Regions from separate parts of the Homo sapiens genome. Here region 2 is linked to region 1. Evidence: promoter capture Hi-C in 16 types of primary human blood cells and fetal thymus (Javierre and others, 2016). All regions are on one chromosome and are shown on one strand. The core of a region is centred on a gene start or on the middle of the fragment in contact, and the rest is flanking DNA. Distances in the headings are between cores, read along the strand shown. Region 1 has its middle 12 kb from the start of OXT. Region 2 holds the start of LZTS3 (leucine zipper tumor suppressor family member 3).

Region 1 (4,448 bases), core at 798-3,297:
TTCTTCTAGTAGATTTATAGTTTCAGGTCTTATGTTTGTCTTTAAGCCATTTTGAGTTGAGTTTTGTACATTGTGAGAGATAGGGGTCTAGTTTTATTCTTCTACCTATGGATATCCTGTTTTCCCAGCATCATTTATTAAAGAGGATGTTCTTTCCCCAGTGTTTGTTCATGATGCCTTTGTCAAAAATCAGTTGACTGTAAACACATGGATTTATTTCTGGATTCTCCAGTCTGTTCTATTGGTCTGTGTCTATTTTTATACCAATAGCCTGCTGTTTTGATTACTACACCTTTGTAGTAAATTTTGAAGTCAGGTGGTGTGGTACCTCTAAGCTTTGTTCTTTTTGCTCATTATTGCTTTGGCTATTAAGTATCTTTTGTGGTTCCATACAAATTTTCAGATTGTTTTTTCTATTTCTGTGAAGAATGTCATTGGTATTTTGATAGGGATTGCACTGAATCTGTGGATTGCTTTGAGTAGTACAGTCATTTAACAATACTCTTCCAATCCATGAGCATGGGATGCCTTTCCATTTGTTTGTATCCTTTTCAATTTTTTTTCTTTTTTTTTTTTTTTTTGAGATGGAGTCTTGCTCTGTCGCCCAGGCTAGAGTGCAGTGGCACGATCTCGGCTCACTGCAACCTCCGCCTCCCAGGTTCAAGGAATTCTCCTGCCTCAGCCTCCGGAGTAGCTGGGACTACAGGCGCCTGCCACCACGCCCGGCTAATTTTTTATTTATTTTAGTAGAGATGGGGTTTCACCATCTTGGCCAGGCTGGTCTCGAACTTCTGACCTTGTGATCCACCCGCCTCAGCCTCCCAAAGTGCTGGGATTACAGGTGTGAGCCACGGCGCCCGGACTTCAATTTTTTTTTATCAGTGTCTTATAGTTTTCATTGTAAAGGCCTTTCACTTAATTATTAGTAATTAAGTTTTGGGGGGGTCAAACGTTATATGTGAATTTTCTAGTGTGCAGGGTTTTGGCATCCATAGCCTCCACATTCTTCAAGGATCAACTGTATTTTGTTGAGGATTTTTGCATCTATGTTTATCAGGTATATTGGCCTGTAGTTTTCTTTTGTTGTTGTGTGTGTCCTAGTCTGGTTTTGGTGTCTGGGTAACGCTGGCCTCATAGAATGAGTTAGAAAAAAATTCTCTTCAATTTTTAGGAATAGTTTGAGAAGAATGGGTGTTAGTTCTTTATAAATTGGTAGAATTCCACAGTAAAGCCATCTGGTCCTGAGCTTTTCTCTGTTGAGAGACTTTTAATTATTGATTCAATGTGGTTACTCATCATTGATCTCTTCAGGTTTTCTATTTTTTTCCTGGTTCAATCTTGGTAGGTTGTTTGTGTCCAGGAATTCATAGATATCCTCTAGGGTTTCCAATTTGTTAGTGTATAGTTGTTCATAATAGTTTCTAATGATCCCTTGTATTTCTGTGATATCAGTTGTATGTCTCCTTTCTCATTTCTAATTTTATTTGGGTCTTCTCTCTTTTTTTCTAGGTTAGTCCTGGTAGTGGCTTATTGATTTTTTTTTTTTTTTTCTCACACACCAAGCACAGGTTTGTGGATTTTGTTTATATTTTTTAAAAAACAAGTTTTTATTTCATTGACCCTTTGTTTCCCTTTTTTAGTCTCTATTCTGTTTAGTTCTGCTCTGATCTTTATGTTTCTTTCCTTTGGGTTTGGTTTATTCTTGCTTTTCTAGCTCCTTGAGGAGCATCATGAGGTTGTTTACTTGAAGTCTTCCTACTTTTTTTGATGTAGGCATTTGTTGTTATATAGTAGGCTATTAATGACTGTTCCAATAATTTTGGCTTCCAAATGATTGGAAACTGAAAGCATGCAAGGCCGGTGTGGTGGCTCACACCTGTAATCCCAGCACTTTGGGAGGCAGAGGCAGGCAGATCACCTGAGGTCAGGAGTTCAAGTACAGCCTGGCCAACATGGTGAAACCCCGTCTCTACTAAAAATACAAAAATTAGCTGGGTGTGGTGGCGGGTGCCTGTAATCCCAGGAGGCAGAGGTTGCAGTAAGCCAAGATCGCACCATTGCACTCCAGCTTGGGCAACAAGAACGAAACTCCGTCTCAAAAAATAAATAAATAAATAAATAAAAGCATGCAGGATATCAGTCACTTATAACAGTCATTTTTTCCCCAATTTTATGGAATTGCATGGAATTTTTTTTTCATCTATTCATTTTCAGTCTATGTGTGTCTTTACGGGTGAAGTGAATTTCTGATAGGCAGCATACAATTGGGTCTTTTTTTTTTTTGGACAGGGTGGTGGTAACAGCAATCTGTTTGGGCCAGTCCCCAGGCCCCTGGGTGGCGTGCTGGTACTGACTGGCAGCAGCAGGCTGGGTGGGCCAGTGCCTGGGCCTCTGGGAGATGCACACAGGAATCAGTGGTAGGCAAGGTGGACCTGTCCTTGGGCTCCTGGACAGTGTGCATGTGTGGCATGCACACCAGTGGCAGTGAAGTGGGTGGATCAATCCCTAGGTCTCTGGACAGTACACATGGACGGCAGCAGTAGGTGGGGTGAGCCCATCCTCAGGTCCCTGGAAGGCGTGCATGTGTGCTGACAGTGCAGGTCAACCCCCAGACCCCTGGATGACATGCATGGGTACTAGCATTGACATCAGTAGGTAGGGTGGGACCCTTAGGCCCCTGGATGGTGCACACGGGTGGTGATGGTGGTGGGCTGGGCAGATTGAATCTCAGGCCCCTGGATGATGTGCACAGGTGCTGGCAGCAATGGTGGTGGTGAAGGGCAGGGCAGGCCTGTTTTCAGCCCCCCAGATGGTGTGCATGGGCACTGGCAGTGGCAGATAGGATGGATTGATCCCCAGGCCCTGGAAGGCATGCTCGGGCACCAGTGGCAATGGTGGTGGGCAGGGCGAGCCTGTCCTCAGATGTCCTCTGCACCTGCAACCGATGTGTGGGCTATTTCCACACAGCCAGTGGAGTGGGAGAGAATGGTAGCCCCACCAAAGAAAAATAATTCATGACCAGTATTTTTTCAGTTTTTTTCCCCCAGCTTTATTGAGGTATAATTGACAAATAAAAATAGAGTATACTCAGCCGGGCACGGTGGCCCACGCCTGTAATCCCAGCACTTTGAGAGGCCAAGGTGGGCGGATCACTTGAGGCCAGGAGTTCAAGACTAGCCTGGCCAACATGTTGAAACCCTCCACTAAAAATACAAAAATTAGCTGGGCATGGTGGTGGGCGTCTGTAATCCCAGCTACTTGGGAGGCTGAGGCAGGAGAATTGCTTGAACCTAGGAGATGGAGGTTGCAGTGAGCCGAGATCATGTCACTGCACTCCAGTCTGGGTGACAAGAGCAAAACTCTGTCTCAAACAAACAAACAAACAAAAAAAGTATATATTTTCTCACACTTGTAATCCCAGCACTTTGGGAGGCCGAGGTGGGAGGATCACCTGAGGTCAGGAGTTCGAGACTAGCCTGGCCAACATGGTGAAACCCCTCTCTACTAAAAATACAAAAATTAGCCAGGTGTGGTGGTGCACACCTGTAGTTCCATCTACTCAGGAGGCTGAGGCAGGAGAATTGCTTGAGCCTGGGAGGCGGAGGTTGCAGTGAGCCGAGATCACTCCACTGCACTCCAGCCTGGGTGACAGAATGATACTCCGTCTCAACATAAAAAAGGAAAACAAACAAACAACAACAACAAAAAACAAAAAACAAACCCAAGGGACTTCTGATGTGAGTATCCACTGAAGCTTACTACAGGTCCACATAGCATTCTGGTTAACTGTGGACATCTTGAGTACCAGTTCTACTGGATCTACTGGATCATAAGGCCCAAAGTACAGAGTGGCCTGCCTTGCAACTGGATCTCTTAAGCTGTCTTCTCTTGCCCTAAATGCCCCTCAAAGCTGGCAGCACTTCTAGTCCTGACGAGCAGAACATTCAAATGTGGCCAGTGTTGACTCCAAAATTCAGAGGTTCACCATGCAACATGTCTCCTTTTTAGAGATAAAGAATGCAAGGTACAGTAACTTGTCCATCATTTTTTTGGTGAAAAGACAATCTGCCAGGCTCAGTGGCTCATGCCTATAATCCCAGCACTTTGGGAGGCCAAGGTGGGCAGATCACTTGAGCCCAGGAGTTTGAGACCTGCCTGGGCAACATGGTGAAACCCTGTCTCTACAAAAAAATATAAAATTAGCCAGGAGTGGTGGCATGCGCCTGTGGTCCCAGCTACTCAGGAGGCTGAGGTGGGAAGATCGCTTGAGCCTGGGAGGTCTACGCTGCAGTGAGCTGAGATTGCACCACTGTACTCCAGCCTGGGTGACAGAGCAAGACTCAGTCTCAAAAAAAAAGAAAAAAAAAAAAAAGACAAACTGTTTTGGTATTACTATAAGAACAACACACATATTTACAGAAGACCGGGCATTCATGTGATGCCCTTTC
Region 2 (4,234 bases), core at 1,326-3,825, 110 kb before region 1:
GGCGGATCTCAAGGTCAGGAGTTCGAGACCAGCCTGACCAACATAATGAAACCCCGTCTCTACTAAAAATACAAAAATTAGCCCGGCGTGGTGGTGGCACATGCCTGTAATCCCAGCTACTCAGGAGGCTGAGGCAGGAGAATTGCTTGAACCCAGGAGGCGAACGTTGCAGTGGGCTGAGATTGCACCATTGCATTCCAGAGGGAGACTCCATTTCAGAAAAAAAAAAAAAAAAAAAAAAAAAAAAAGTCTAGTTCATAGTTGCTCTGAAAGAAAGGAAGGGGATTGCATTAGTTATTCATTCAATAGTTACACACTATGCTAGAGTTTGTGTAAATTTTAAGTGAGACTCTGTCTCAAAAAAACAAAAAAGTTTTCATATGCATTGGACCAGAGTCAGATATAGATAGTATTCTCTTATTTTCCTGGTGTTCTTTTAAAGATGCAAAACCACATTAGTCTATGAAATAGGAATGGAGACTACAAAGAGAGATTAAGTTGAGATCAAGACAGAGGTGGAATGGAAATTGGCTGAAAGAAAAATAAAACAAGCAGAATCAAATGTCTTATTGGAGAAAATAAACAGTACTCTTGGCTCTGAAGAAAATTAAATCCGTAATGGTGAAGAAAAACTTGATATAGTCTCCCAGGGTGCAGAGAAAACAAACAGATTTATTTGACATTGGTGATCCAATGTGATAGTTTTAGAGGAGAGGAAAGAAAAAAACCCAAATCTTTTCACAGAATGGACAGGAAGAAAACTTTTCTAAGCTACAAAGAAGACCTCTTTTGTTTCTGGAAAATTAATAGATAAGGCCCATATTGATTTATACTGGCAAAATGTTTGACTTTTGAGGGTAAAGAAAAACCCTTGCAAGCACCAAGCAAACTGCTGACCTTAAACAGACAAACCCAGCTTTGCATTTTCAGTGCCAGAAGACAATGAAATAAAGACAAGAGTTTTGAGGGGGAAAGCTTGAGACTCAAGAATCCTATAAACAGGAAATCATTATAAAGGCATTCTCACCTAAGGCAAAGGCTTAGGAAATACAACATTCCAGAGTCCTCCCTGAAATCACCAGTCATGTGAGAGATGGGTCCAAATGAGGAATAGAAAAATTAGAGCACAAAAAACCGGCAGTAACATTGAAACCAATTAAACAGAGTTGGCAAAAGCCAAAAACAAGGATTGAAAAAGAATGTTGTGGCTTAAAAAAAAAGTGTAAACAAAAGTTAGGTCTGTCGTCCTGATTAAGTGGACAAATATAAGTAGTGAGGGCGGCAGGTAGGAGGCAGAAAAGCACACAAAATTTCTCATGGGGGAATATAAAAACGAATTATTTGTCACTGACTTTACTAATGTGTGAAATGTAAACTATTTTCATTTGATAAATCTAAAGGCAGCCGCGAGAAGAATTAAAAATACTTTCTGCCTTGAAAATCACGATAGAAGATAAAAGCAAATGTGGGAAAATTCAGAAAACAGGAATAAATAAAAACTATAGAATACGAAGTCGTAAGACCAAACACAACACCTATAAACAGCAGAGACGTAATGCGTTAAATCCCAGCCAGAGCAGAGGCGCTGCAGTTCTTAGGGCAGACCCTGGTGCCTCCAGGCTTTTGCTAGTGCTAAACTCTCGGCTAGGCTTGCCTCCCTACCCTATTCAAGGCTGAGGCCTCAATTCAAGGCCGACTCCCTCCTCCCGGCAGTCCTCCCGGGCCGCCCTAGGCTGAGTGAGCACTCCCCACAGTGAACGCTGCCCGCGCGGGCGAGGCCGGCGCTCCGGGTCCGGTACGAAGTCCCACCTCACTCCCTCTCACCCCGGGTTACAGCGTGTGGTCTGGGGCCACGCGTTACGCCAGGCGCGGGGCACAGGGTGAAAGCGTTCAATCCTGCTGGAGTGTAATGTGTATTTTTTCCCCGTCGCACCTTCCAGACGGTGATCCAGTGTGAGCAGCAAGTTTCAAATCGTCTCCGTTTGGTCACGAACGGAGTTTACTGCCCCTCGACGCCTCCCGCACGACAGCCCGTGGTCCTCGCGCCCGGGCGGGTCGTTGCTCGGCCGGGCGGATCCACCCGCGACGGCTCGTCCCGACCCCTCCCTAGCGGACTTGCAAGGTCTCAGGGCGTCCGCTGGGAGGCCGCGTCCCGAAGAGCTGGCGCGGGAGAGGAATGGGGCTCGGGGCTCCGAGTCGGGAGCCCCTTCCCCCAAGCAAGAGGGGCTCCTCCTCCTCTTCCTAGACGTGGGATTCAGGGAGGGCGCGGTTCCATTGGATTTGTTGCAGAGGAACGACTGGGCCTGAGCCCAAGCCCAAGGGCCTGGGGGGTAACGAGCGATGAGCAGAGGGGCTCGCGGCGGACTTGCTGCGCCCTAGAGAGGGTGAGGCTGAGGGGTCCCACGCGCGGGCGGGGCGCAGCGACGAAGGGGTTAAGGCGCCTCACCCCGCCCCAGCCCGGGCATTGGCTGCCCTGGGGGGCGTGGCCGGAGGGCGGGCTCGCGTTTGCCGCAGCCGCTGGTGGGCGGGGCTCGGGCGGGGAGCAGGAGGGGCGCGGAGCGGAGCCGGGCCCGCGCAGCGCGCCCCGCCGGGCGTGCTTCGGGCTGCGCCAGCAAGCGGGGCCGGTGGCGCCCGTGTCGGAGACCCCGCGCCGGACCCTGAGGCAGCGAGTAAGTGAGGCAGGCCCATCGTGGCATCCCTCCCGGCTCCGACCTGCCGCCGTGCCTGCTGCACTGCGCGGCATGTCTGACCTGACCCGGACTGGGTAGGGGGCGCGTCCCGCTGCTAGGGTCCCAAGGGGGAGGGGAGCGGAGAGGAGGCGGATGATGTCATGGATGCTTCGCCCGGCCTGGGGGGAGGTGGCGGCCAGAGGGGGTGCGGCTCGGATTATGTCACCTCTTCCCTCTGCGCCCCGCCCCCCGGGGCCACACGCGTTGGTGGGGAGCCTGGGGAGGTGCGGGCGGGGTTTCCCCCATCGCAGGGACTCCCAGGTCCTGTGGCCTGTGGCTGGGGTCTCTATCAGTTGGCTCTGCGGGCCGTGGGCTGCTGGTGAATGGCGACCCCCCCTCCCACCCCCAGCAGAAGCTCGTGTGTGCGCGCGTGTGTGTGCTCGGGGTGGAGGGGGCGCTCTCGGCCCCCTCAGTCCTGAAACACTGGCTTCATCAGAGCCAGTAGCTAGGTGATGGGCCCATTCCGCTGCCAGTGCTTAGGCCACCGAGGGAAGACGGATCTCCCCTCACTCATCCCAACCAAGAAGTTCTGGATATCTCTGCACCCCAAAAGCCCTGCAGTGCCCCCAGATCCCTTTCCTCCCTCAGTCCTGCTTCCTGGAAACCCCTCCTGCTCTCCCTGCCCGGATTCACTGCCTCTTTGCATTGCCCATAACTAGCATTCCCACAGGCATTTGCCCTGCATTTCCTTGGTGCAGGGCCCAGAGACCCCCAGGACTCTGCCCTCTGTGCTCCTGGGAAACCTATAGGCCAGCCCTGGGGAGGCCTCAGAGTGAAATCTCCCTGGGGTGTCCTCAGCCAAGTGCTCCAAGATGCCCCCTCTGGGGGGTGGAGATCAGGGATGCTGTCCTGAGGCCAGCCTTTGAACTGGTCTAGAAGCATGTAGGATGGGCACAGAGAGCTGGCAAGAGCTTGTGTGTGAAGTAGAGAGGGGCTCAGGTCAGGGTAGATAGAGGAGGGGCATCAGGAGAGTCCTTGGGGACCCTGCTGCAAGCTCTGCTCTGGTTCTGGGGACCAAGAGGAATACCAGGCATTTCACCCATCATACATTTACTTCTTAAAATGCCTGCAATGTAGGTGTGAGAACCCGAGGTGAAATAACCTGCATGAGGTTGCACCCCTAATCAGTCAAGCTGGGATTTACACTTGGAGCTGATGCTGCCAGAACTCTGTCTACTGCACTTGGTCTTGCTCATGGAAGGATTTGGACAGAGCAGGGGCAAGATCAGCTTTGCCCTTTAGAAGGAATCCCCTGGCAGCTGCCTGGGGGAGGGAGTGCAGGAGAAGAAAGTCCATTGAGGAGCCCCCAGCAGGGGTGCTGGATGGAGGGGCTGGCTAGAGATTTTTAGGAGATAGAATGGGCTGGGGTTGGGGCCTCTGAGACCCCAAGTGTTCCTAGCTTTGGGAGAGACACAGGTTGAGGGGTGGGTTGGAGGTACCTGTACATGTAACTGTCAGGTAGAGTCCGTTTGGCCCCCTCATGACGCTAATACTGTGTATAATGC

What was found. Contacts are between HindIII fragments. The CHiCAGO score rates a contact against its expected background, and 5 or more counts as called.
Region 2: a contact is called between the fragment with the promoter of LZTS3 here and a fragment that was not itself captured in region 1, in 2 of 17 cell types (naive CD4 T cells and naive CD8 T cells). The highest score is 6.0, in naive CD4 T cells.

What each region holds. Positions count from the first base shown.
Region 1 is chr20:3,057,818-3,062,265 of GRCh38, reverse strand. No RefSeq gene overlaps it. Among named protein-coding and RNA genes, the nearest start is that of OXT, 12 kb to the left of the region's middle. RefSeq lists enhancers at 2,150-2,649, 2,650-3,151. The HindIII fragment of the contact is 3,419 bases long and covers 338-3,756 here.
Region 2 is chr20:3,171,890-3,176,123 of GRCh38, reverse strand. LZTS3 (leucine zipper tumor suppressor family member 3) reads left to right here and starts at 2,575. Exons shown (of 5, transcript NM_001365618.1): 1 at 2,575-2,669. It overlaps LOC107985414 (a long non-coding RNA gene), which reads right to left and starts at 2,434. Exons shown (of 2, transcript XR_001754477.2): 1 at 1,934-2,434. RefSeq lists a silencer at 2,352-2,691. The HindIII fragment of the contact is 3,672 bases long and covers 978-4,234 here.